2 separate regions of the Homo sapiens genome follow, and region 2 is linked to region 1. Evidence: promoter capture Hi-C in human tissues and cell types (Jung and others, 2019). All regions are on one chromosome and are shown on one strand. The core of a region is centred on a gene start or on the middle of the fragment in contact, and the rest is flanking DNA. Distances in the headings are between cores, read along the strand shown.

Evidence for each region. The method cuts DNA at HindIII sites, captures the fragments that hold promoters and counts their contacts. A contact is called where the count stands out against the background at its distance.
Region 2: a fragment that was not itself captured here is called in contact with the fragment with the promoter of CAPN15 in region 1 in 2 of the 25 tissues and cell types used here (lymphoblastoid cells and pancreas).

The regions. Positions count from the first base shown.
Region 1 is chr16:522,662-529,504 of GRCh38, forward strand. CAPN15 (calpain 15) reads left to right here and starts at 5,051. Exons shown (of 14, transcript NM_005632.3): 1 at 5,051-5,368. It overlaps LINC00235 (long intergenic non-protein coding RNA 235), which reads right to left and starts at 4,746. Exons shown (of 1, transcript NR_024121.1): 1 at 4,186-4,746. It overlaps RAB11FIP3 (RAB11 family interacting protein 3), which reads left to right. Exons shown (of 14, transcript NM_014700.4): 14 at 1-350. RefSeq lists an enhancer at 3,610-4,171. The HindIII fragment of the contact is 8,144 bases long and covers 4,026-6,843 here.
Region 2 is chr16:241,648-248,436 of GRCh38, forward strand. The region is part of intron 1 of FAM234A (family with sequence similarity 234 member A); the gene reads left to right. Among named protein-coding and RNA genes, the nearest start is that of FAM234A, 10 kb to the left of the region's middle. The HindIII fragment of the contact is 7,678 bases long and covers 1-6,584 here.

The DNA of each region.
Region 1 (6,843 bases), core at 3,801-6,300:
TCCAGGCCCAGTGGAGCCTGGCAGCTTTCCAGCCAGGTTCTGGATCCTGACGAGCTGCTGAGACAGCATCAAGGTGGGGCAGGTGGGGCGGGGCAAATTGGGCAGCACAGGGCTGTGTGGGCATCAGGGCTCTGGGTCACACGCCTCTGGGGACGTACGTCCCATGTCGGGAGAGCCGTCAAAACGTCCCCGGGATTAAGAGAAGAGTGGGGGGCAGGGCGCAGAGGCTCACGCCATAATCTCAGCACTTTGGGAGGCCAAGGCAGGAGGATCGCTTGAACCCGGGAGTTCAAGACCAGCCTGGGCAACATAGCAAGGCCCCATCTCTAAAAAATAAAAAATTAACCAGGCATTGTGGTGCGCACCTATAGTCCCAGTTCCTTGGGAGGCTGAGGTGGGAGAATTGCTTGAGTCCAGGAGACGGAGGTTACAGTGAGCTGTGATCACACCGCTGCACTCCAGCCTGGGCGACAGCGAGACCCCATTTCAGAAAGAATTTAAAAGGGCAGTGATGTGCAGGGTGGTGGGAGGACATCCCCCAGAAGAGGGGGCAGACACAGTACCAGCACCACAGGCACGGGAAGGTGAGGAGGCAGGTCCCGACGGAAGTGGGCTCCCGAGGTCATGGGCAGCCAGGGAGTCTGAGAGAGCTCAGTGCCACTGCAGCCACAAAGAATGGCCTGCGGGGAGTGGTCCCATCTGATCAAGAGTCCCCCAAAAACACAAGCCTTGAAAACTGGACCACCTGGTCCAGCATCCAGGAAGCGGACTGTGCATCTGCGGCTCTCGCTCTCCCGCCCCCCGCGCGAGATGCCCGCCTGCCTGTCACTCTCAGATGCAGATGGAGATGGAGAAACCAAGGCCCAGGGAAGCTGAGGACCCAGGTCTGCCAGTCCCCTCAGCCCAGCTGCTGCTTGCGGGCTGGTGACCAGAAGAGGACCAGGCGTGGCCTACAGTGAGGAGTCCTTGAACCCTCAGTGCAGGTGCAGCAGAATGGTTCCAGGTCACAGGGCCCAAGAACCCTGATTGCTTCATGAGTTAGAACTGAGGAGTGACAGGCCGGGCGCGGTGGCTCACGCCTGTAATCCCAGCACTTTGGGAGGCCCAGGCAGGCGGATCACAAGGTCAGGAAATCGAGACCATCCTGGCTAACATGGTGAAACCACGTCTCTACTAAAAATACAAAAAAATTAGCCGGGCGTGGTGGCCGGCACCTGTAGTCCCAGCTACTTGGGAGGCTGAGGCATGAGAATGGCGTGAACCTGGGAGGTGGAGCTTGCAGTGAGCAGCGATCACGCCACCGCACTCCAGCCTGGGCAACAGAGCGAGACTCCGTCTCAAAAAAAAAAAGAACTGAGGAGTGACATGGGCGGTGTGGGTGTGTCCAAGGCCAAGTTCCTCCTCCCAGGAAAAAGACCTGCTCTCCCACCTACCCAGGGGTCTGTGTGGTGCCAGTAAGACCCATCTCTGCCTAGAGGGAGAAGCTGGAGGTGGGGAGGGGAACTCACTCCACGCTGCCAGGCCAGAGCCAGGGAGGGGAAGGGGAGCAGCTTCCTCCTCCTGATACCCCACTGTGGTCTAGGAGCACCTCAGTTTCCACGCTAGATTTTAAACATGGGGCTGTCCACAGTCCAGCTGGCCCCACCTCGATGACCCACTGGGGTCTCCAGCCCAAAGGAGTTTGAGACAGGAGGACACAGGATGAAATGGAAACATTCCCGGAAGGGCTGCCAGAGACCTTGTGGGTGAGCGAGAGCAGGGTGGGGTGGCCGGTGTGCATGCCTGGTGGACGTGCCCAGAAGCCTGCACCCCCCAGGAGGCCCGAACGTGTCCCTCTGGAGTGTCGCCCCCACCCCCAGCTGTGCAGTGGGATGGTCACTGGGCCTGCCAAGTCTCCCAAGGCAGATCCTGTCCCCAGCTGGCTCCTGACATTGAATGTTCTGAGTCTTGGTCAGTTCTGCCCGATGGAAGAGCACCAAGGAGTCTTGCCCGGCAGGATAGAGAGGAGCGGCTCTGCCCCTGCCCTGGAACAAGAGCCCCGGACGTGGGTGCAGAGCCCCTCACATGAGGACCGCCCCATCCTGCCTCTGCTGAAGGGCAGGTATAGGAAGGCTGGACCCCCTCAGCGGCCCCCCGGATGTGGGTGCAGAGCCCCTCACATGAGGACCGCCCCAGCCTGCCTCTGCTGAAGGGCAGGTATAGGAAGTCTGGACCCCCTCAGCGGCCCCCCGGATGGCACCCTGGCCCCTCTACCTGCTGGCAGTCCAGTAACCTGGAGGTGGTGGCCCAGAGAAAGGCGGGAACTTCTCCCAGGGCCCCGTCCATTGTTATTTTCACCTGTCCGGCCGCCCATTCTTTTTTTGAGACGGACTCAGTCACCCAGGCTGGAGCGCCATGTGCCATCCCAGCTCACTGCAGCCTCAACCTCCCGGGCTCAAGTGATGCTCCTGCCTCTGCCTCCCAAGTAGCAGGGACCACAAGCACACACCACCACACCCTAATTATCTTTTAAGTGGAGACAGGTTTCGCTTTGTGTGTTGCCCAGGCTGGTGGTCCGTCGTCTTTTTGACCCAGGCCTGTGTGGCTCACAAAGCAGGCAATTGCAGGGTCATCCCATCAAATCTGAGCATGGCACCAGAGCACACAAGTCAGCCACCTGCGGGCCTTGGCACCCTCGTGCTCCACGCCAGGGTCCCTGTGTGCTCAAGTCTGGGCTCCATGATGGCACTGGGGTTTGTTCTGTTTGCTGCTTTGTGCGCGTGAGGCTTTCTCTGGGTGCCTGAACAGATGCCTCCAGTTTCAGTTCTTTCTGTTTGGCCCTCCCCATCCTCTTCTCCTCCAGGGGGGATTCATGGCTCGCCTCTTGGCTCTTCTGGGCACTTGGCGAGCTTCTGCGCACTTGCGTTAGCTGCTCAGGTCTGTCTGGATGTGAGAGTCGTGTCCTCAGGCCAGGAAGCACTGGCACGGAGCAGGGCTCGGTCAATGGTCTGGATAATCCAGAGTCACTTACCTTCTGCTGTGCAGTCATTTACAATTCACGCCTGTGTGCCTGATGTCTTGTGACTCAGAATCTTCAAGACAATCACAGGCTGGCCTCACGGAGGCACGAGTGACTCATTTCTCTCATCGCACCCATTCCCTCCAGCACTCTCCTTGTGCGGGGAAACCTCAGTCACCTTGAAGACGCCTCCTGAGGCCCTCTTCTGGGTGAATGGGCTTCCTCCTTCACCATGACAGGCTACTGGGGAGAGCTGGGGTGCTCCCACCCTCTCCTCACCCCAAATGGGCCTGGCCTAGCAAAACTGGCCAGAACTGGCCACTCTGCAGTGAGCTGGCAGGGCCCTCAGCATCAGATCAACAGGTTCAACTGCAGCTGCCTCTCTGGTGGGGAGGTTATAAGGCCTGCTGGCTAGACCACTGGCCCCTGGCCAGGGAGCCACCTAGGCAGTGCCAGGGAAGGACTGGGAAGGGAAGAGAACCTGCGGTCCCTGAGTGAGGCCTTGACTGCACCCTCTCCTGTGGTTCGAAAGCCACACTTGGCCAGTATCCTGCCATGCAGGTGAGGAAGCTGGGGAGGACAGGGTCCCAGAGCCTTGTCCAAGTTGCAGAGAGGAGAGCCAGCTCTCACTCTGCAGCCCTCTGTGCCCCCAGACCCCCACTGGCCCCCGGGGACACATTTCCTGCCCTTGGGATGCTTTGGCATGGATATAGTCTGGGAACAAACGGCACATCCAGCTGCCCTGCCTGTCTCCACAGAGGGGGCAGCAGACCTAGGGGGAGGTGTCCAAGACACAGGAATGAAGTGTCCTTACCAAAAGCTTCCGAGGACAGAAATAAACCCCTCCTGCCAGCTTCTGCACTGACTGCAGCTAGAAGCCGAGCTCCACGTGGGACACAGGTGTCCCTGCTGCGGCATCTCAGCATGACGGAGGCCCATCCTTGGCTTTCCTGGAGCATGAATATCCTCTGAGGAGCACTGGCCCTGGCCTTGTAGGTCTTGCTGAGACTGGCTTAGATTTTCTGGCCCAGGAGCAATCGTCACCCAACCTCCCACTTGTAAATCTCGCCACAGAATCGGCCCACAACCGTCTCTCCGGAATCTCGGCGGACCAGCCCTGCTCCTGTGTCTCCCTCTCCCGCAGAGCCACTGCCTTCTCAGGCTCCTCAAGTGCACCTAAGAGCGGGAGTCTGGCTGCCCTCAGCACTCGCGTCCCGCCCTGCAGCCTGATAAGCTTGACGCCAAGGCATTCTCCCGAGAGCCGGCCCAGCAGCTGCTGGCAGGAGAGTGGCCTCAGGGCAGCGGGAAGGGGACCTCCGGGGAGAGAATGAGGCCTGCGCAAGGGTCCTGGAAGGACCCAGGAGTCGCCCCGGCTTCCCTCCCCCAGGCCCTGGTTGGGCGCCGTGGGCCGCGTCCCAGTTGAGCCCGGCGTGGCCGTTTAATGGCGTCCCTCCGCGACCGAGGACGAAGGGGCCTAGAGAGGCTGTGCCCAAGCGACGCTGCGAGGCCAGGCCGCGTCTCGGGCCAGGGCGGTCCCCTTGCCACCGCCGCTCTTGGCCGCCAGGACCAAGCACAGCACGCAGCGTCGCGAAAGGGGCGGTCCTGGAAGGCGCGAAGGGGTCTCCGGGTCTCGCGAACACGGCGGGGTCGGGGCGGAGTCGTGGGTCCTCGGTCGAGCGGCCGCCCAGAGCCCCGCGGGACACGGACGGCCCCAGCCCGGCTCCCCGCGAGCCCCACGCGTCTGTGACGCCGCTGATGCGCAGACGCCGCGGCTGCAGGCCCCGCCCCTCCGTGCCCCTCGCAAGGCCCTCTGGGAGTTGTAGTTCCAGCTCCTCCTCGGGCCGCCCCACTCCCTGATAATCCTGGAGCGCGGCGCCTCCCGGGGACCGAGGCCTCGGGCCCGGCCGTCTCCAGCAGCGAGGGCAGGAGAAGTGGCCCGGGCGGTCGGCGGACTGGGAGGGCGCCACCCGAGGACTACAACTCCCGGCCTGCCTCGCGCAGGCACCGCCCCGAGCTTCCGCCCCGTCGGCGCCGCGCAGCCCTGTGGGAGCCGTAGTCCGGGCGCGCGATTCACAGCGCCGCGTGCGCCCCGGGCGCGCCGTAGCCGCGGGGCCCGGGCCGGGCGCTACGCTACGAAGGCAGCGTAAGGCGGGCGCCGGACGCGGGCAGGGGCCGGGGCCGGAGCCGGGTCGGGGCGCCCCGCGGCTGAGGAGCGGGAGGCCGTCCGGGCAGCGCGGCCGGCGGCGAGAGGGGCCCCGCCGCTCTCCGGAGGCAGAAGTTGTGGATCGGCCGGCGGGGGCGAGCGGGCCCGGGGGCCGGGGCCGCGCTGCCCGGGCCGCGAGGACGAGGCGGCGCCGCCGGGCTGTGGAGGTGAGTCCCGTCGGCCGGGCCCGGCCGGGCGCCCAGCCGGGGACCCCGGGCGGGGAGCGCGGGCCCGGAGGGCGGCGGGGAGCGCGGGCTCGGCGGGGCGCAGGAGGCCTCGGGGGCCGGGCGCGCCGGGCTCCGAGCCAGGGCAGGGACGGCAGGGCCCCCGGAGTGGGGTCAGCCCGCCGCCCGCTGGCGCCTCCAGGCTGGTGGGGGCCAGGGCTGGGCGATGCTTCGCAGAGGAACCCAGAGGAAGGCGGGAAGTCGGCAGGGACCTGGGCCATGTGGGTCACTTGAGGCCAGCCCCGGGGGCCGCGCACACCGGAGGCGGCCTCGGCCCTGCCTGCCCTTGAGTGCCCTTATATCCGGGCCCATCGTGCGGTCCTGGCCGCCTTAGGGATGTTGTGCTTGGTGCGGGCATCACTCCCCTCACTTGGGGAACGGCCTGGGGGCGGCCACCTGGCGTGGAGGGGCTGGCGGGAGCCCCGTCTGTGCCAGCCATGCCAGTGTTCTCTTCCGTGTTCCTCTGGGGCTGCTGCGGCACCAGCTGGGAAGTTGCAAATCTGCTGTCCTCCCGCTGGCTGCAGAAGGGGCCCCTCTAGTCCTGACCGGGGGAACTCTTGTGTGGTCAGCTGGCCCTGGCCGGGCGAGCTCTCGGGGCCCCCTTACTGCTCTGGAGTTTGTTACCGGACTGCAGGTAACAAGACCCGGAAAGCAATGGTGAGGCCCAGAACCTGAGGCCAGGCCTGGGTGTGTGGGGCCAGTGGGGAAGACTGGGACTCCGTTGGGTGCTGAAGAGTTGTGTGCTTCTCCTTCGGGAAACCCGGATCTCTTCCTCTGCCCAGGTCTGAGGGGTGCGGAAACGTGAGTCACAGTTCAGTGTGGGAGTGCCCCGTAATTGCCTCCGCGTTTCCAGAGTCTGGGGCTGGGCAAGGATATAGGGGTGATTCTCCCTTCCGGTTCTGAGTGACTTCTCAACTGTGAAGTGGGGCAAGAGAAATTGTTTTTCTGGCCTGTCTGGGGGAGGCAGGTCCTGCAGGAAACCAGCTTGGCCTGGCCTTGGGTTGGGTGTGCCTTGCCTCCTCCGAGGTCCTTCTGCTTGCGGGAGGAGCACCCCTCTTTTTCCTGCTTCTGTCTGTGTCTGAGGCTCTCCAGAGCTCCTTGATTGGCAGAGGAGCCAGTGACCTCTGAGTCCCCAGGAGAGCCCGAGGCTCAGTAACTGCATAACTGCGCAGGGCCTCTTGTCTGGGCCTCCACAGACCGTGGTCTCTGAGAGCAGGAAGTGGCTGGTCCCCTGTAATGCTGCATCTGTGTGACAGCCTCAAGCCCTGCTGGCTCTCTCTCCGGGCACCCCTCACTTGCTTCTTGCCCTGGCCTTGGGCAGCACTCCGGTAACCCCAGTGCCACAGGTGAGGAACCGAAGCTGGAGACAGCTGTTCATGGCAGGGGAGGGGCCGAGGGAGGCTGAGCGCCTGGTCTCT
Region 2 (6,789 bases), core at 1,496-3,995, 280 kb before region 1:
TGGCTCAGGCCTGTAATCCCAGCACTTTGGGAGGCCGAGGCGGGCGGATCACGAGGTCAGCAGATCGAGACCATCCTGGCTAACACAGTGAAACCCCATCTCTACTAAAAATACAAAAAATTAGCCGGGCTTGGTGGCGGGCACCTGTAGTCCCAGCTACTGGGGAGGCTGAGGCTTGAAACCAGGAGGCGGAGGTTGCAGTGAGCCAAGATTGCACCACTGCACTCCAGCCTGGGCGACAGAGCGAGACAACGTCTCAAAAAAAAAAAAAAAAAAGGCAATTAGAATGAGACTTTTGTTTTTATTTTCTGTTCTCTGTGACTCAGTAAACTTCTTAGAGAAAGAACTCTTGGAGAAAAGGGAGAGACCTGTCACTTCCTTTCTGCATGGACTGTGGTATTCCTGCCCCACCCCTGCCGAAATGTTAATGAGCTGTGCAAACTACTGCTGGATTGTTTTGTTCTTCCCCCTAATCAGAGTTTCCACTCAGGACTGGGTAGCCTGTGGACTCCCTGGAGGACAGATAGGTGTGGCAGCCTCAGTGGCCTAGAGTGGACAGCTGGTTTACCGATAGTCCTTTTTTTTGAGACAGAGTCTTGGTCTATCACCCGGGCTGGAGTGCAGTAGTACGATCTTGGCTCACCACATCCCCTACCTCCCAGGCTGAAGTGATTCTCGTGCTTCAGCCTTCCCAGTAGCTGAGACTATAGGCAGACACCAACATACCCACCTAATTTTGTATTTTTAGTAGAGTCGGGGTTTCACCATGTTGGCCAGCCTGGTCTTGAACTCCTGTCCTCCAGTGATCTGTCCACCTCGGCCTCCCAAAATGCTGGGTTTATAGGCACGAGTCACCGCGGGCTTACTGATAGTTCTGTAGGCCAGGGGAATAATCCGTTTGAATAACCATATATGAGGTATTGTGTTTATCTTTCTTTCTTCAAGTTATTCTTGGTGTCAGCTCCTTTTTTTTTTTTTTTTCTGAGACAGAGTCTCGCTCTGTCGTCCAGGCTGGAGTGCAATGGCGCTATCTCAGCTCACTGCAACCTCTGCCCCCCGGGTTCAAGCGATTCTCCTGCCTCAGCCTCCTGAGTAGCTGGGATTACTGATGCACATCACCACGCCTGGTTAATTTTTTGTATTTTTAGTAGAGATGGAGTTTCACCATGTTGGCCAAATTGGTCTCGAACTCCTGACCTTGCGATCCACCCACCTCAGCCTCCCAAAGTGCTGGGATTACAGGCGTGAGCTACCACGCCCATCCCGTGTCAGGTCTTTTACCTTAATTAATACGTATTGTATTGACAAATTTTCTTTTCTTTCTGAGCCCTCACTTTTTTTTTTTTTTTTGAAACAAGGTCTCACTCTGTTGCCCAAACTGGAATGTAGTGATAATGATCACAGCTCACTGCAGCCTCAACCTCTTGGGCTCAAGCTAACCTCCCACCTCAGCCTCCCAGGTAGCTGGGACTACAAGCACATGCCACTACACCTAATTTTATTTTACTTTTTGTAGAGATGGGGTCTCCCCATGTTGCCCAGACTGGTCTCGAACACCTGGCCTCAAGTCATCCTCCTGCCTCAGCCTCCCAAAGCACTAGGATTATAGGCGTGAACCACCCTGCCCGGCCATGAAGTTAAATTTTTGGTTATTAGCTTGTTGAGTTCTGTTTTCTGTTTTTTTAAATAGCCACATGGCCTGACTCTCTGTGGTCAATGGTATGGATGCTAAAGTAGAGCAAGGACAGTGCCCTGCTCAAGTCTCTCTGACCTGGGTCCATGGGGATTTTCTCTGCCAGTCAGGTTCCTGAAGCTCTGGCTACGGCTCCTGGTATTTTTAATGACCGCAGTAGAGAAAAACATTGGTATCTTCTTGCTGTTGATGAGCAAATCTTTGGACCTGTCTCATGGTGTCTTTATTTGCAAACTGGTTGAATCATGAACTGCCTGGCTTTGGCTGCCTTGCCGTTGTGGCTTTTAATAACTACCCCTATTTCTGGTGGCTCAGTCAAGTTTCCAAAAAGGAAGTCTTACCTGGAGATCCTGTGAAGGAATTCCTGACCAGCTTTTTAATTTTCCAAAGACAGGCCTTATTCGTGTTAAACACACACCCCTTTTCTGTGGCCAGGCCGGTGTGAAAGCATGTGCAGAGGCTGTATAGCAGTAAGAGTTCCCACCCCTTGGGGCATTTTCATTGTCACCACATTGTCTGACTTTGGAGACGACCCCTTTTAAACTCTGGCATTTGCTCAGGTAAGTATTTGGGGAGTATTGTTATAAATGCTGTGCATATCCGTTTTTTCCCCACAGTGGAAAGGAAAATGATTTTTTTTTTTTTTGAGTCGGAGTCTTGCTCTGTCACCCAGGCTGGAGTGCAGTGGTGCCATCTCGGCTCACTGCAACCTCCGCCTCCCAGGTTCACACCATTCTCCTGCCTCAGCCTCCTGAGTAGCTGGGACTACAGGCACCCGCCACCACGCCCGGCTAATTTTTTCTATCTTTAGTAGAGATGGGGTTTCACCGTGTTAGCTAGGATGGTCTCGATCTCCTGACCTTGTGATCCACCCGCCTTGGCCTCCCAAAGTGCTGGGATTACAGGCGTGAGCCACCGCGCCCGGTCGGAAAATGATTTTAATGGATGGTTTTGAGGAAGCTGGTGATTATTTTGTAATGGAGAATTGTAACATGCCAGGGGTTTGGCTCTTCTTTCAGTATTTCTTCAGGCTACCACAAAACTCCACTATTGATATTCTTCCAAAAATAAACAAAACACTAAAAGGACTCCTGCCTTTGGAACAAAATAGCTTCATATTAAGGTAGCTTTGAGGCACAAACCAAGCTGCCTGTGGAGAAGCTGGTTCTTCCTCTAAAACTTACATGAACCTCTGACCCCACTCCCCCTTACTAACGGTTTTCTTTTCTCTTTTGATTTTCTATTTTATACTTTTTATTTTGGACTACTTATAGATTCACAAAATGTTGTAAAAATAGCACAGGGCTGGACCCTGAAGTCTGCTTCCCTGAATGGTAACCTCTTTTTTTTTTTTTTTTTTTTTTTGAGACGGAATTTTGCTTTTGTTGCCCAGGCTGGAGTGGAATGGCACGATCTTGGCCACTGCACCCTCTGCCTCCCAGGTTCAAGTGATTCTCCTGCCTCAGCCTCCCGAGTAGCTGGGATTACAGGCATGCACCACCACGCCCGGCTAATTTTTTTTTGTATTTTTAGTAGAGATGGGGTTTCTCCATGTTGGTCAGGCTGGTCTCAAACTCCCGACCTCAGGTGATCTGCCCGCCTCAGCCTCCCAACGTGCTGGGATTACAGGCATGAGCCATCGCGCTCGACCAATAACTACCATTTCAAATTCCCACGACTATTGTACTGCAGACCTGTTATCGTATATTCTCACCAACACATTTTAAAATGCTTAACTTTTAGGCTGGGCGTGGCCCACACTTTGGGAGGCTGAGGCAGGCAGATCACTTGGGCCCTGGAGTTTGAGACCAGCCTGGGCAACGTGGCGAAACTCTGTCTCTACAAAAAATACAAAAATTTGCCCGGCGCGGTGATGCACACCTGTGGTCCCAGCTACTTTATAGGCTGAGGTGGGAGAATCTCTCGAACCCAGCAGGAGGAGGTTGCAGTGAGCCTAGATCACCACTGCCCTCCAGCCTGGGCCACAGAGTGAGACCCTGTCTCAAGATCAGATAAAATGAAATGCTTAACTTTTGTTAATGTCATTGGTCCTGCTGTGTCTATGAGTGAGACTGAGTGTGTTTCCCCTGGGCACCGGCCACTGGCGTGTGCTCTTCAGTGAACTGCCCAGTTATGAATTCGTTTCCTGTTTCCCCACTGGGGTCCTTGCCTTTCTTTTGTGGGTTTGTGAAAACCCTAAGAATATTTATCCTGGTTTGTTTTGTGGAGCTAACAACAATCTTTTGGCTTCCCTGGGCCACGTTGGAAGAATTGTCTTGGGCCACACATAAAGTACACTAACACTAATGATAGCTGATGAGCTGAAAAAAAAAAATTGCAAAAAAATCTGTGAATGTTTTAAGAAAGTTTCTGAATTTATGTTAGGCCACACTTCAAGCCATCCTGGGCCGAGGGTTGGACAAGCTTGGGTTAGACATTTCATAATATATTTAGTTCATCAGTGTTTTTCTTAATGATTTCCACCTTTGGGGTCATGCGTTCAAGACTTTCCCTAACAATACATAAACATTCTCTTCTATTTTCTTTTAGTTTAATGTTTGTTAAAAATAATGTTTACATTTTTGGCCAGGCGCAGTGGCTCACGCCTGTAATCCCAGCACTTTGAGAGGCTTAGGTGGGCAGATCACGAGGTCAGCAGTTCTAGACCAGCCTGATCATCATGGTGAAACCGTCTCTACTAAAAATACAAAAATTAGCTGGGTGCGGTGGTGGGTGTGGTGGTGGGTGCCTATAGTCCCAGCCACTCAGGAGGCTGAGGCAGGAGAATCGCTTGAACCCAGGAGGCAGAGGTTGCAGTGAGCCAAGATCACGCCATTGTACTCCCGCCTAGGTGACAGAGCAAGATTCTGTCTCAAAAAAATAATAATAATAATAATAATGTTTACATTTTTAATTCATTTGGAGTTTATCTTGATTGGTGGATTTTTTTTTTTTTTTGTGACGAGGTCTCACTCTCACCCAGGCTGGAGCACAGTGGTGCAGTCTCGGCTCACCGCAACCTCTGCCTCCTGGGTTCAAGCAGTTCTCCTGCCTCAGCCTCCTGAGTAGGTGGTGGCTTTTTTTTTTTTTTTTTTTTTTGAGATAGTCTTGCTCTGTCGCCCAGGCTGGAGTGCAGTGGTGCGATCTTGGCTCACTGCAAGCTCTGCCTCCCGGGTTCACGCCATTCTCCTGCCTCAGCCTCCCGAGTAGCTGGGACTAAAGGTGCCCGCCACCACACCCGGCTAATTTTTTGTATTTTTAGTAGAGATGGGGTTTCACCGTGTTAGCCAGGATGGTCTCAATCTCCTGACCTTGTGATCCGCCCGCTTTGGCCTCCTAAAGTGCTGGTATTACAGGCGTGAGCCACCATGCCCAGCCAGCTGGTGTTTTTTTTTTTTCGATCGATTGGTGTTTTGTTTTGTTTTGTTTTGTTTTTGTTTTTTTCTTTTTTTGAGATGGGGGTCTTGCTCTGTTGCCCAGGCTGGAGTGCAGTGGCACGATCTTGGCTCACTGCAACCTCTGCCTCCCAGGCTCAAGTGATTCTCCTGCCTCAGCCTCCTGAGTAGTTGGGATTATAGGCGCATGCCACCATACTCATCTAATTTTTTTATTTTAGCAGAGGTGGGGTTTCACCATGTTGTTCAGGCTGGTCTCGAACTCCTGACTTCGTGATCTGCCTGCCTCGGCCTCCGAAAGTGCTGGGATTACAGGCGCAAACCACCACGCCCGGTCAGTTGGTGGTTTTTTAATTGATTGATTGTTGGTTTTGTTGTTTTATCGATGTTTTGTTCTGTTTTGTTTTGTTTTGAGACAGAGCTTTACTCTGTGTCACCAGGCTGGAGGGCAGTGGCGTGATCACCACTCATTGCAGCCTCCACTTCCTGGCTTCAAGTGACCCTCCCACCTCAGCTCCTGGGTAGCTAAGACCACAGGCGTGTGCCACCACACCGGGCTGATTTTTTTTTTCTTTCTTTTTAGAAACGGTCTCACCGTGTTGCCCAGGCTGGTCTTGAACTGAACTCAAGCTTTCCATGCGCCTCGGCCTGGCAAAGTGCTGGGATTATAGACATGAGACAACACTCCCAGCCTTATTAATGATTTTTTTTTTTTAAGAGAAGTCTTGCTGTTGTCCCTCAGGCTTGAGTGCGATGGCTCAATCTCGGCTGACTGCAACCTCTGCCTCCCAGGTTCAAACAATTCTCCTGCCCTTGACTCCCAAGTGACTGGGATTAAGGTGCCCGCCACCACGCCCGACTAATTTTTGTATTTTTTAGTAGAGATGGGGTTTCACCATGTTGGCCAGGCTGGTCTCGAACTCCTGACCTCAGGTACTCCGCCTGCCTTGGCCTCCCAAAGGGCTGGGATTATAGGCGTGAGCCACCGCGCCTGGCCTTATTAATGATTTTTAAATCAGTTTCTCACAAACTCTTTTGATCTTAGATCAGTCTGTGTTTTTCATAAATGCCTCAACGGCTGGCTCGGTTTTAGAAACCTGTGTTTGTCAGTTAAAATGATGATCCTCCCAAAAATGTTCAGTGCCATTTTCTACCCTGACCTGGGTTCGCCCAAGTGGTGGGAGAGTCCCCATGGAGGCACTGCGGGGCCTGACTGTCTGGGAACCCTCTCAGAGTGGAGCCCAGTGCTGGGTTCAGGTGGGTGCTCATCTGGTTAAGTCAATTGCCTGCATTGTTTTGCGTCCCGTAATGGGGCTTTGCCTTCTGAAGCCTCTGTTTCTGTCTTCCCTCACACGTATGTGATATGTCTTATTTCATTCTGCTCTGCAGGTGAGGACACTGGACCAATTGTAGATGCTCACAAGACACAGATGACCCAAATCCCCAACCGTGTTACTAATGAGCATTTAGAGAGTTTTTTCCCTTTGTCCTTCTAAATCTTGTTACAGAGATGGTCCGTGCATGGGGGAAATGTTTGTCCTTTCGGCCAGGCTCTCCAATTCAAAAGGCAGGAATTGAGAAAATGACAGTACTTTCTCTGTCCCTGCCACAGAATGTCCAGTTTGGTCTGATTTAACATGACAAATCATGCTGTAGAGATAAGTAAGTAGTTTGAATTTTATTTTTCCTTTAATTTTTAGA